Regions from separate parts of the Homo sapiens genome. Here regions 2 and 3 are each linked to region 1. Evidence: promoter capture Hi-C in 16 types of primary human blood cells and fetal thymus (Javierre and others, 2016). All regions are on one chromosome and are shown on one strand. Each heading gives the region's core, a stretch centred on a gene start or on the middle of the fragment in contact. The rest is flanking DNA. Distances are from core to core; before and after follow the strand shown. Region 1 holds the start of YY1 (YY1 transcription factor). Region 2 has its middle 14 kb from the start of LINC00523. Region 3 overlaps LINC00523 (long intergenic non-protein coding RNA 523).

The links. Contacts are between HindIII fragments. The CHiCAGO score rates a contact against its expected background, and 5 or more counts as called.
Region 2: a fragment that was not itself captured here is called in contact with the fragment with the promoter of YY1 in region 1 in 2 of 17 cell types (monocytes and neutrophils); the score reaches 8.5 in monocytes.
Region 3: a fragment that was not itself captured here is called in contact with the fragment with the promoter of YY1 in region 1 in 1 of 17 cell types (megakaryocytes); the score reaches 5.7 in megakaryocytes.

The regions. Positions count from the first base shown.
Region 1 is chr14:100,236,190-100,240,704 of GRCh38, forward strand. It overlaps YY1 (YY1 transcription factor), which reads left to right and starts at 2,955. Exons shown (of 5, transcript NM_003403.5): 1 at 2,955-3,734. The coding sequence starts at 3,056. It overlaps YY1-DT (YY1 divergent transcript), which reads right to left and starts at 2,432. Exons shown (of 2, transcript NR_189150.1): 1 at 2,282-2,432. RefSeq lists enhancers at 2,017-2,869, 3,707-3,866 and silencers at 2,107-2,706, 2,767-2,846, 2,997-3,066, 3,557-3,606, 3,877-4,515. The HindIII fragment of the contact is 3,842 bases long and covers 763-4,515 here.
Region 2 is chr14:100,640,760-100,645,268 of GRCh38, forward strand. No RefSeq gene overlaps it. Among named protein-coding and RNA genes, the nearest start is that of LINC00523, 14 kb to the right of the region's middle. RefSeq lists an enhancer at 4,416-4,509. The HindIII fragment of the contact is 4,860 bases long and covers 306-4,509 here.
Region 3 is chr14:100,660,765-100,665,215 of GRCh38, forward strand. All of the region lies in intron 1 of LINC00523 (long intergenic non-protein coding RNA 523), which reads left to right. Among named protein-coding and RNA genes, the nearest start is that of LINC00523, 5.7 kb to the left of the region's middle. RefSeq lists an enhancer at 1-957. The HindIII fragment of the contact is 267 bases long and covers 1,981-2,247 here.

The DNA of each region.
Region 1 (4,515 bases), core at 1,705-4,204:
AGCTCTTTGGGAGGCTGAGATGGGAGGACTGCTTGAATCCAGAAGTTCAAGGCTGCAGTAAGCTATGATTGTGCCACTGCACTCTAGCCTGGGAGACAAAGCTAGACCCTGCCTCAGAAAAACAAAAACAAAAAAACCCACAGCAGTTAAATTTATCCTCACTTTTATTACTATTTTTTAGAGACAGAGTGTCACTCTGTCACCCAGCCTGGAGTGCAGTGGCGCGATCTCGGCTCGTTGCAACCTCCGCCTCCTGGTTTCCATTAACTCACCTGCCTCAGTCTCCTAAGTAGCTGGGTCTACAGGCGTGCACCACCACGCCCAGCTTATTTTTGTATTTTCAGTAGAGACGGGGTTTCACCATGTTGGCCAGGCTAGTCTGGAACTCCTGACCTCAGGTGATCCACCTACCTCAGCCTCCCAAAGTGCTGGGATTATGGGTGTGAGCCACCACGCCCAGCCTATCCTCACTTTTAGAATCCCATGATTCTGAAACTGCAATTTGACCTGTCCTTTTAAAATAATTTTTACCTTTAGCAAGTGCAAGCAAGCGAGAGCCACACGACACATTATCTTTGCATGTCTAGTCATAAGATACTCCACCGTTAAACAGTAGAAAACAAGAATATCTCCCACTAGAAAAACTTAAGGCCTAACAGGTCACCTCCTATGGGGCAAGTTTAAAAAGCTATTTTCTGGAGCAGGTACTAGGATGGCCTTCAGGAGCATTTTAGTGCTTTCTGACCTACTACCTTTCCTCAAAGCTTTCAATCCTTTTGGGCTTTCTCCACTTGAATGTGAACACCTACAGATCTACAGCTCAGAAACCAGGATGCTTAATGGGTAATTCCCTCATTTCTCTTGCTCTCACAATTGGTGTTTATGGGGAAGTATCAACTACTTGCAGTGCCATTTCCCCATCAATTACTAGAGAGTGGGGAAAGTGAAATTTAAAAAGCATTAAGACATGTAAAAGTTCTCCCACAACTGGTTTCCATTCATGAAATATTTATGCAGAGTTTATAAGCTATAAAGCCAGAGATGACTTAATTCAACAGATTTGACTTTTCCAAACTGAGTGGGTGCAGTACTCCAAGGGGAATTATTCAGGTTTCAAAGCTCAGATTCAAAGAGAAAACGATCTAATTTGTCACTCCTTACACTAATATTCTCAAAAGTCAAGTCCAATGCGATTTAGCAATAAGAAGGGACTAGGATTTATAAAGTTGCCTTTTAATGAGAATGTATAGTCTACTTGTTTTAACAAGTTGAGCCTAAGATTAATGTATTGCGTACAGTTCAGAAAATCATGGGCCTCAACTGCATGAACACTATTACAAAACAGTAAATGTTGATAATATTTAAGTTGAACAAATTCACAGAGGCGTTAAATCGGCCAAACGAGTACAACAAAGACACACCTTTCCAACTCTTCAATTTGTCATAGTTTCCTTAAAAATCAGGAAATCTTTGTTTTGCTTTAAGGCAAATTGTCAGGTCGACCAAAAGGACAGATAAGAGCAGAAACACTTCGCTGCAATGTAACTCATTCAGGAAGGTTTAACTTGCCGCTAATCCGTGCCACAAAAAAAAATCTAGGCTCTGTTGCAGGTACAATGGAGGACACGGCTGAAAAAATTTGGAATTTTAAATGAGACAAATGCAAAACCTGGTGGGCGTAAAAAGGAGCACCTATGAAAGTGACAAATAGGGGGAAAGGGTGGGCAAGGGAAACAATGGCTGACTGGAGAGCAAAGAAGGGGAAGCTCAGGAGAAAATTTTAGAAAGCCGCCAGGACCCTGTAGTTCTAAGATCTACGGGGAAACAGGCACCCAACGGCTGCGTCTCAGGTTTCCGCGGGTCACTAAAGAATAACGGACATCCTCCCAACGGTGGCCCTGGGGCTCCGCGGGCGCTTCCGCCGAGCTCGCGCCGACCCCGCGCTCGGCCCCGCACCCCGCCGGGCGCTCGCGGCGAGATACCGGACGCTGCCCGCGTCGCCCGATTTTGTCCGTTCGGTCCTCCACACTCACCCCGCGGCCATCGCTCGCCCGAAGCCAGGCGACAAGAACAAACACCTCCCGACGCGAAAAAGGAAGCACAGGCGATTCTCGTCAAAGCAGACTTTATTGGGGCGACAGGGCCGCCCCGCACGCGCCAGCCGCTCCCCGCGCGGCCCCCGGGCCGCCCACCCGCCTCAACCCCGCTCCCGGCCGGCCCCTCCCTCCCTTCTCCTCAGGCTCCCGCCCCCGTGGTGCCCGGGGCCGCGCGGACCGCTCACCGGCTCCCAAGGCAGCGGCTGTAGCGGCGACGCCCCGTTCCCGAGTGCGGCCCCGGCCCGAGGCGGCGGGTTTTGTGGCTGTTGCACCGCGAAGGGCGGCAGCCGCGCGACACCGGGAAGCGGGAGGCGGTGGCGGCGGCGGCGGCGCGCTGACGTCACGCGCCGCGGGCCAGCCAGGGCGCGTGCGAGCCGCCCCGCCCCCGGTCCCATCGGCCCCAATCCGGGAGGAGCCCGGCGAGTGGGCGGGGCCGCGGAGGCCAGCGGACAGATCGATTGGCCGAGAGGAGAATCGAGAGGGCGAACGGGCGAGTGGCAGCGAGGCGGGGCGGGCTGAGGCCAGCGCGGAAGTCTCGCGAGGCCGGGCCCGAGCAGAGTGTGGCGGCGGCGGCGAGATCTGGGCTCGGGTTGAGGAGTTGGTATTTGTGTGGAAGGAGGCGGAGGCGCAGGAGGAAGGGGGAAGCGGAGCGCCGGCCCGGAGGGCGGGAGGAGGCGCGGCCAGGGCGGGCGGTTGCGGCGAGGCGAGGCGAGGCGGGGAGCCGAGACGAGCAGCGGCCGAGCGAGCGCGGGCGCGGGCGCACCGAGGCGAGGGAGGCGGGGAAGCCCCGCCGCCGCCGCGGCGCCCGCCCCTTCCCCCGCCGCCCGCCCCCTCTCCCCCCGCCCGCTCGCCGCCTTCCTCCCTCTGCCTTCCTTCCCCACGGCCGGCCGCCTCCTCGCCCGCCCGCCCGCAGCCGAGGAGCCGAGGCCGCCGCGGCCGTGGCGGCGGAGCCCTCAGCCATGGCCTCGGGCGACACCCTCTACATCGCCACGGACGGCTCGGAGATGCCGGCCGAGATCGTGGAGCTGCACGAGATCGAGGTGGAGACCATCCCGGTGGAGACCATCGAGACCACAGTGGTGGGCGAGGAGGAGGAGGAGGACGACGACGACGAGGACGGCGGCGGTGGCGACCACGGCGGCGGGGGCGGCCACGGGCACGCCGGCCACCACCACCACCACCATCACCACCACCACCACCCGCCCATGATCGCTCTGCAGCCGCTGGTCACCGACGACCCGACCCAGGTGCACCACCACCAGGAGGTGATCCTGGTGCAGACGCGCGAGGAGGTGGTGGGCGGCGACGACTCGGACGGGCTGCGCGCCGAGGACGGCTTCGAGGATCAGATTCTCATCCCGGTGCCCGCGCCGGCCGGCGGCGACGACGACTACATTGAACAAACGCTGGTCACCGTGGCGGCGGCCGGCAAGAGCGGCGGCGGCGGCTCGTCGTCGTCGGGAGGCGGCCGCGTCAAGAAGGGCGGCGGCAAGAAGAGCGGCAAGAAGAGTTACCTCAGCGGCGGGGCCGGCGCGGCGGGCGGCGGCGGCGCCGACCCGGGCAACAAGAAGTGGGAGCAGAAGCAGGTGCAGATCAAGACCCTGGAGGGCGAGTTCTCGGTCACCATGTGGTCCTCAGGTGAGCGCCGGCCGCGCGCCCCGGCCCCGGGATGTTTTTGTTTTGAAGGGAAGCCATGTTTTATGTGTGTGATGGGCGCCGCCATCTTCTTCGCCAGGGCAAGTATGGCGGCCCCAAAAGATGGCGGGCCGTGCGGCGGCGGGGGCGCGGCGGCGGCGGCGGGCGGCGGGCCGCGAAGATGGCGGCAGGCCGCGGGGGGGAGGGGCCGGCGCCGCCCGGCTAGGCCGCAATGGCGTAGTTTCTCCGAGAGGGGGAAGCGCCGCGCGGGGCGGAGACGGCCGGGGGAGGGGCCGGCGCGCTCGCTCCCCGACGCCCTCGCTCCCCGCGCCCGCATCAACGGGCGCGCCCGCCGGCCCGTTGTGGCGGCAGCTGCGCGCCCCCGGCCCGGGCGGGACGCGGGAGGTCGTTGGCGGGGCTGCGCCGCGGCCTCGCGGGCCAGGGATTGCTGCCTCCGGGACGCGCGCCCCCGCCCCCGCCCGGCGCTGCCGTTACCCCATCGGCCGCTGGAGGGCGCCGCGGGCGCTTGCCCCGCCCGCCCCCAACTTCCCCGGACTCCCAACTGCTCCCCGGTGGCACCTTCCAGAAGGAGGGGGCTTGGCACTCGTGGGCGCCCTCCGGCCTCCTTGCTCCCCGCCCACCCAGCGCCGGGCTGGACCCTGCCCCGGCGGTCACGCTCGCCCAAGTCGTCGTTTGCTGCGGGGCGGGACTTGGGGCTGCACGTAGGGCTCGCGTGTGCGGGCTCCGAGCGTCAGTCGGAGCCTGTCACCGCCGTTGCCAGCGA
Region 2 (4,509 bases), core at 1,486-3,985, 400 kb after region 1:
AAGTGGGGATGACGGAAATACAAATCCCTCATGGGGGATGCTCAGTCAGTCCTGGGCTGTCCTGATACACGCATTCTTCCAATGTGGGCCCCGGAGAATGTGCTGATCCTGCAATAGGGTGTCTTCAGAACATGAATCATGAGTATGAAAGAAAACAAGCCACGGACCCTGCTGAGGAAGCCTCTGGAGTCAGGATGTGGTGGGCCCTGGCAGGCTGGGCATTAAGAGCATAGGCTCTGCCGTCGGGGGATCTGGGTTGAAGTGTCCGCCCTGCCACTGCCTCCTGGCAGTCTGGGGCTGTCTCAAGCTTCTGTTTCTAGTCTGGTTTGTGGGGACCGGAATCCTTGTCCTGCTCTGGAATCCTGGGCAGAGAGGACACAGTCCTTGTCCTGCTCTGGAAGCCTGGGCGGAGAGGACACAGTCCTTGTCCTGCTCTGGAAGCCTGGGCGGAGAGGACACAGTCCTTGTCCTGCTCTGGAAGCCTGGGCGGAGAGGACACAGTCCTTGTCCTGCTCTGGAAGCCTGGGCGGAGAGGACACAGTCCTTGTCCTGCTCTGCAATCCTGGGCGGAGAGGACACAGTCCTGTGGCTGGCATGAAGGAAATGCTCAGCACTCCCAGGGACTCTGGGAAGCTCACTCCCTCTGCTAGTCAGTCTCCTCAACTGTAGATGGGGCTAATGAGGGCTACTCCCACAGGTTGCTGGGAGGATTTAATAAGGTAATTAATAACAAGCAGTAAGGGAAGTTGGTAACACTTGTTAAGAACTTAACAAGCACCAGGTGTCATTCAAACTGCTTCTTTATCCCCATTTTACGGATAAGAAAACTGAGGCATGAGGCGTTAGTGATCTGCACAGGATCTCATGCCAGAGATGTATGGCTGCTGACCTTGGCTTCTGGCCAGTTTGGCTCTGAGGCTAAGCTCCTGGTGGCCACACCACTGCGACTTGCTGGGCCTCAGCTCTCCTCCCCCTGCATCTTCTGCTTCTAGTCCCCGCTGCATCTCAGCTGCCTGACAGCGCTGCCTTTATTTGGATGTAGTGCAGATCTGGCCAGGCCCTGCCTGCTGGGCATGGGGGCTCCCCTGGACCGCCCTGCTCCCTCCCCAGCCTGACTTCAAAGCCCTCAGTGCTGCAGACAGACACACCTGACTATTGGCAGCGGTTCTGTCTCCAGCCATTGCTCCCGGACACCCTCCTTGTTCCTGGCTATGTCCAGCCCTCCCATGAAGCCTCAGGGAGGCCTTCTTTGACCACCCCACGCTGTACTCCTCAGGCTCCCTTGGCCCCGCAGCGCCCTGTGCTGTCTCTTTACAGATCAGCTGCTCCCACTGGCCTCTGGACAGCTCCAGACTCATCCCTGTATCCTCCTCACCAAGTCACCAGCCCAGGCCAGGGGAGAAGGGGACTAGGGAGGAGGGAGGAGATGAGGGTGTGGAAGGTGTCATTATTTAGAAGCCGGGGGCATTGAGGTCATGGGCCTGGGCTCAGGATGAATGAGGACCAGAGGGGGAGGACTGAGGGGGCAGGGGCCGGCTCAAGGTGGAGGGGCATGAGGATGGTGTGGGGGGCCCAGGGCAGAAGAGGAAGGGCTAGGAAGCAAACTGATCTTGATAACAGCTTACACTGTTGGAGCCCCTACCTGGGCTGAAGCTGGTGATAGAGAGCTGGGCCCCACTCCAGGGAGGTGACCCTGAGGGGCAGGCACATGAGTAGGTAACTCCAATCCGGGGGACCTGGGACATGGAGAGACAGGCCTGGGGGAAACAGGGGCATTGCAGATGTCATTCAGTTAGACGAGGTCATATCAGAATAAGGTGGGCCCTAATCCAAGGACTGGTGTTCTTATAAGAGGAGAGAGGCCCAGTGCAGTGGCTCACACCTGTAATCCCACCACTCTGGGAGGCCGAGGAGGGAGGATCACCTGAGGTCGGGAGTTCAAGACCAGCCTGGCCAACATGGTGAAACCCCATCTCTACTAAAAATACAAAAATTAGCCAGGCATTCTGGTGGGCACCTGTAATCCCAGCTACTCGGGAGGCTGAGGCAAGAGAATCACTTGAACCTGGGAGGCAGAGGTCGCAGTGAGCTGAGATTGCGCCACTGCACTCCAGCCTGGGTGACAGAGCAAGAGCAAGAGTCCATCTCAAAAAAAAAAAAAAAGAAAAAAAAGAAAAGAAAAGAAGAGGAGAGGCCACAGGGGCACACCTGGGGAGGAGAAGCCATATGAAGACAGAGGCAGAAATGGGGATGACCTGTCCATAGTCAAAGGTTGCCAGCAGTTACCAGACTTCAGAGAGTACAGTTACCAGACTTGGATGCCAGACAGCATCCTCCCCTAGTGCCTCCAGAGAAGTGTGACCCTGGTAACACCTCAATCTCAGACTTCTAGCCTCCAGAACCCTGAGAGAATAGATTTCTGTTGCTTGAGCCCCTCAGTCTGTGGCACTTTGTTAAGGCAGCTGCGGGAAACTAGTACAGACCCCAGGGCTCCTCTGATCCTTAGCCCCGGGAAGGACCAGGGGTAGAGACAGGGACCCCAAACCAAGACTGAGAACAGTGTGCAAAATCAACATGAAACTCCATTTTAGGAAAACAAAGTAAGTAGCATTTCCGGTGCGCCTGAGGTTATGGACTGAGGTTTGAGGCTGTTGCATGGGGGCCTTGTGATTTGGGCTGGAGGAAAGTTGTGCCCTCTTGGGCCCTGCTGGCCACATCTCTGGTTCCTGGGTTGGCGTCATCTGTGACTGCTGGGGCAGTGTTGAAGGGCCAGTATGTGAGTGGCCACTGTGTCTGCCGCCCCAAATTAATATTTGATGGTGTTGAATCACTTTCTTCTGAGACAGAGAAAGAGGCCATCACACATGGGTAATAAGATGCGCTGGGCTGTTCAGCGCAGTCGGGGCCTGAGGAGGTTGACGGCACTGTGAATAATTCATCCGCCTGTAATGATTTTCTAGCCCTTGCGTCCCTCTTGGCCAGAGACAGCCTGACCTGCCCTCCCCTGCCCTGGCAATCCAGCCCAGTGCCTGGTCACTCTCAGTCACACCAACCTGAGAGTGAGAGGCACACGCTCCCCCTAGCTGGGTGGTCTGGGACTTGGCCTCGGTTTCCCCAGCTGCACCAGCAAGAGAGCTGTGTGCCTTGCTCCTACACAGGAGGTACAGAGAGGCCAAGTGCTGTGGCACTGACCCTGGAGTTGGCACCACCCATGTGCTGTGTGACCCTGAGCACCTCTCTGGACCTTGGTCTTGTTACTCTGTACAATGGGGACAGGAGCACTTGCCACCCTGCCTGTCTCACAGGGTCTTATTTCTGCTGTTTTGGTTGGACATTCCTGGTATGAGGTATAGTGTCAGCTGTATTCATTTAGTCTGTTTTTGTTTTTTTGAGATGGAGTCTCTCTCTGTCGCCTAGGCTGCAATGGCACAATCTCGGCTCACTGCAACATCCGCCTCCCAGGTTCAAGCGATTCTCCTGCCTCAGCTTCCTGAGTAGCTGGGATTACAGGTGCACACCACCATGCCCGGCTAATTTTTGTATTTTTAGTAGGGATGGGGTTTCACCATGTTGGCCAGTCTGGTCTCGAACTCCTGACTTCAAGTGATCCACCCGCCTCCGCCTCCCAAAGTGCTGGGATTACAGGCATGAGCCACTGTGCCCGGCCTCATTTAGCTTGACCTCAGTGTGCTGGTCGATGCTGTCCTCACTGAGTGGGTGGCATCCCAGTGGCAGAGACAGGAAGGGGCAGGGGACTGACCAGGAAACAGATGTCTACACTGTGAATGAGTGAGAACAGCCAGGGAGAGCACAAGAGGCTTGGGGTGGAACTGCAGAGCAAAGAGGAGGCGATGAGCTTGGCCAGCGAAGGTCTGAGAAGACTGCCTGGAGGAGGGAGCTGTAAAGCTAATGACTGTGGGAACAAAACATGCACAAGGTGTTCACCATAACAGCAATAGCCACGGTAACGTGCTGCAATACAGCACTAATGGGGTGCAATGTCTCCCACTTTCCCCCCATCCTACTAAAGGGAACCTTCACGTTTAAAAAATCGTTCTTTATGCATATTTGGATTAAACCCCTCCAGGGACTTTCTACTGACTTCAAATAACATCTGCTCTGGCCTGCAAGGCCCCCATCCTCTGTCCCTTGTCTTATCTCAGACCTATTCTCTACCACTTCCTCCTCCTGTTTTCCTGGAACTCCTGGTCTTCTTTCTGTTGCACAAAAAGGCCAGATCAATGCTCACCTCGGGGCCTTTGCAATCGCTATTTCTGCACCAGGAATGATCCCTCCGCCCCGGTCTTTCCTTGCACTTCTTCAGTCTCAGCTCAAACGTCACCTCCACACAGAGGCCTTCCTTGAACACCCCCCAGAGTTGCTGCCCACTCCCAGCCATGGCCACTGCGTTGAATTGCCCTTTTAACTTTGCTTCACAGTTCTTAACACTATAGGACATTTTCTAGTGCAGCCACATCTTTGCCTGTGACACTTTGCCTAGTGACTGTC
Region 3 (4,451 bases), core at 864-3,363, 420 kb after region 1:
AGCCCTGCAAATGACTCATCCCTGCCCTCCGTGCCTCAGTGCCCTCATCTGTGAAATGGGTATAATAGGAGTGTCCCTCTTCATAGCGTTGCATGGATGAAATGAGATAATGCATCTAGAGCTCTTAGTGTGGGCGGCCTGGCATGTAGTAAGTGATCAATTAATGGTGGCATGAGTCACTGTTACTCATATTATTATTCATATCGCAGTGCCCTTCGGCTTCTTCAAGAATGTATACTGAGCTGGCCTCACTCCAGAGTTGTTTACTTGTGCTTGTCTTCACAAGGTAATTGAGAAGAGGCCAAAGAGAGCAAGGGCCAGCCCTCCGGCCGCCTGCTTCCCAGGCCGGACTGTTTCCTTCTCCAGGGCCACCTCTGCAAACTCTTCAAAAGAAGCAAGGTCATACTCCCTAGTCTAAGCAAAGGAGGAAACCAAAGGCAGCTTTGATATGTCAGCTTAGGGAACAAGCTGACGGCACGGATCACAAGCGCTGGGTTCTGCCTGAGCAAATGGCTCTAAATGACGTACTTCAGGCTCTCCTCTTAATGTGCTGGGTGTTTATGATTTTTTAAGAAGTGCCTCATCAAAAAAAATGCAATAATGATGCTCCTAACTTAACAGCAGCACTTTAGAAGAGATGAATTATTCACATCAGAGATGAAACAGGGACTCTACAAACTGGGCCAGCTGAAGCAGTCCCTTTCCCGGGAACTATTTTTATCTTTTTTTTACAGTCTTTCATCTTGGGAGACACGCGGTTCGCAATGTACGGGGAGCCCATTGCTTGGAGCCCAAGCTGGCAGGATGTCAAACCTGAAGTACTAGGCGTCTTGGAGCTTCTGCCTGGAGTACGAAATCCGAGGAAACTGAAGTGTGGAAAACGGGGCAGTAGCAATGTGAATGAGGATGATTGAGGGGTGCTGGGGACTCCCTGTTTCTTAACCTTGGAGGGCTCTCAGAGGCATGCTTCTCCATCGTCGACCCAGGGCACCATGGAGCTATCTTGCCCTTTCTTTTCCTGACATCCAATGATTCCCCACCTAATAGTGCATGGAGCTCTTGGGAAAGAGTGTATAGATTCTATATGGTGTGCATGGAGCAGCTGGCCCTGAGGAAGGAAGGGATTTCATTATTGCAAGGCTCAGGGGCAAGTGTGGACTAGCAGGGTCCCAAACTCTACAGGCCTTGACAGTCCAACATTGTCACACTCAACACTCGCCCATTTGCTTTAAAAAGCACCCTAGACCTGCACTCTCTGATATAGCAGCCATGAGCCACATGGGTACTGAACACTTGAAATGCAGTTTGACCAAATCGAAAGGTGCTGTGAGTGCAAGCAGCATACGGGACTTCAGAGACTTAGTACAAAAGGAGAATGTAAACGATCTCGTGAAGATTTCTACATCGATTACACATTGAGATGATAATATTTTGAATACATTGGGTTAAATAAAATATATTGTTAAAATTAATTTCACCTGGTTAAGAGCCAGGTGAAATTTACTTTTCAAAACATGTTGCTAGAAATTGTGAAATTACTTATGTGGCTCACTTTACATTTTTTTTTTTTTTTTTTTGCCCAGGCTGAATGGAGTGCAGTGGCGTGATCTCGGCTCACTGCAACCTCCGCCTCCAAGGTTCAAGCGATTCTTCTGCCTCAGCCTCCTGAGTCGCTGGGATTCTAGGCACATGCCACCACACCCGGCTAATTTTTGTATTTTTGGTAGAGACAGGGTTTCGCCATGTTGGCCAGGCTGGTCTCGAACTCTTGACCTCAGGTGATCTTCCCACCTCGGCCTCCCAAAGCGCTGGGATTACAGGTGTGAGCCACTGCACCCGGCCTCACTTTACATTTTTATTGGACAGCACTGCTCTAGAAAGGGAGCTAGGAAGATAGTAAGTAGTGGCTGACTCTTGGTGGTGGAATTACAAAAGCCTTTCCCCCCTCCTTTTTTAAAAATAATTTTTCTGTGTTTTTTAAGCTTTGCAGAAATGCCACAACTAGCCATTCTTGCTTTATATCTGCAAAGGCACATCTATTATTATTTTTAATGACTCTCAGAGCTTGTTGGGAAATGGGACTGAGTTAAGCAGCTTCCTGGAAGGATCAGTGTCAGCAACCATGCTGTGGGGAGAGTCAGGGAACAGCAAGAGTGTCGGGGGCTTTGAGGACTCCAGAGATTTGAACTGGGCTCAGGGTTCAAGAGCTCAGGTAGGAACCAGAACCCCAGTGAGGGGTGATGGGGAAGCTTATTAGTGAGACACAGGAAGTGGCTCCAGTGATGGCTTCATGGCTTTGGCCTGGTGGGGCCTCTTCCGGTGTACACAGCAGGAAGCTGTGCTCTTCCTGATGGACGTCAGCTCCTATCTCTCCTGGGGAGTGGAGGCTGCTCTGGAGTGGGGCCAAGATCGGGAGGCCCAGGAGAGAAAAGGGCCTGCAATCTACCTCCCAGTCAACAAGATGCTATAATAAAAACATAGCCAACTGTCACTCAGCGTTTATTACGGTGCCAGGTGCTGCTTCACATACTTTCCATATTTTAACTCATCTATTCCTGAATTGCAATCTATGAGATAGGAACTATTATTGTCCCCATTTCACAGATGAGGAAACAGGTGCAGAACCGTGGAGTAACCTGCGCAGGGTCTCCAGTAGAAAAACAGGCCCTTGGTCAGATGAATTTACCCACTTCGGCCACCAGGGGCGCTGTTGGCACAGCTTGAACTCGAGACCAGCGCTGTCCAACGGAAACCGAACGTAAGCCACATTTCTAAAAAGTACACAAGAAAAGTGAAATTAGTGTTATATTTTCTTTAACTCGGTATATCCAAAATAGTATCATCTTGGCATGTAATCAACACGACATTTATTAGATACTTTACTTTTTTTTTGTTAGACTGTGTCTCGAAATCCAACATGCTGTTTGTACTTAAATGCACTTTAGATGTGAGTTCCATTTTAGGCACCCCGTAACGATATGTGGCTCGTGGCTGCTGCATTGAACAGTTCAGCCACTAAAATCAAAGAACTAGCCCAGGATGGCGAATTGGTCCATCCAGTCTACCAACCCTGATTGTTGGTGTTGGTGCTTGGAGGCATGCTGTGATTGATTAGCAATGTCTGCTGTGAACGTGGAAGGGGCACTGTGGGAGGGTCTGTGTCTCCTGTATACTGACTGATCATGAGCCATGCCAGCACAGTGAAAAGAGACCTCTGTATTCCTGTGGGTGGTCGTGCACCAAGGGTTGTGGTGACCTCCCCCTCCTCTGCCCTCCTGTGGTTTTTACTGTGTGCGGTGGGCCAGGCTCCAGGTATACTGATCCTGGGTCCTGTGTTCACATTCCTGTGCCTCTGTTTTCTGGCTGTGACTCCAGATGAGCCACTATACTTCTGCGAGCCTCAGCTTCCATATCTGAAAAATAGGCGTAATAACCACTACTTAGCAGGACTGCTACATATATGAAGAATTGGCATTCAATAGACATAGAGTAAGTGGTGGCTCCCCATTCTTCCTCCTGCTTCCCCCCCACTCTCCTCAAGACAGACTCAAAGTCTGTCCTCACCCAAAACCCTCTCGGGAGGCAGACAGCTCCTTACTGCGCCTTCTTGGCGATCTCTCTGCCCCATCCAAGGCTGAGTGAGGCCTCCTGCTTGCTGGCTTCCTGCAGTGCCCCTCTGCCGGCCCCTTCTGTCAAGGCCAAGGACCGACTCAGCCCTCAGCAAGCTAGCACAATAGCCCTCCCCATCTCTGGCTCCAAGTGGGCTCTCACCTATCAGACAGCTGATGATGCTGAGACACTCTGCTGGTTCCATGGTTTTTTTGTTTTAGTTTTTTTGAGACAGAGCCTTGCTCTGTCACCCAGGCTGGAGTGCAGTGGCTTGATCTCGGCTCACTGCAACCTCCACCTCCCTTGTTCAAGCGATTCTCCTGCCTCAGCCTCCTGAGTAGCTGGGATTACAGGTGTGTGCCACTATGCCCGGCTAATTTTTTTGTGTTTTTAGTAGAGACAGGGTTTCACCATACTGGCCAGGCTGGTCTCGAACTCCTGACCTTGTGATCCACCAGCCTCGGCCTCCCAAAGTGCTGGGGTTACAGGCATGAGCCACCGCACCTGGCCCTGGTCCCATGTTTTTTAATAACCACCCCCCTCGGCCACTGTAGACAAGGACGTTCTCTTCCCGGCCTCCAGTTAGGACACTGGCTCTCCTCCAGCTCAGCATGCAGAGGCCTCCCATGGCCTGTGCCAGTTAGCACCTCTCCCAAGACACCTGGGGCCCCCTTCTGGGGAGGAATTTACAATCAAGCAACATCTGGCAGAGAGTGAACTGTAAATGGTGAACACGCTGGCGAGGCAGCGACTCCAATTAGGAAACAACTAGATTTCTCTAAGTATGATGGGAAAGTAATTCTCTGGCCAACAGAGTTTAATCAGAATGTTTTATGCAAGAC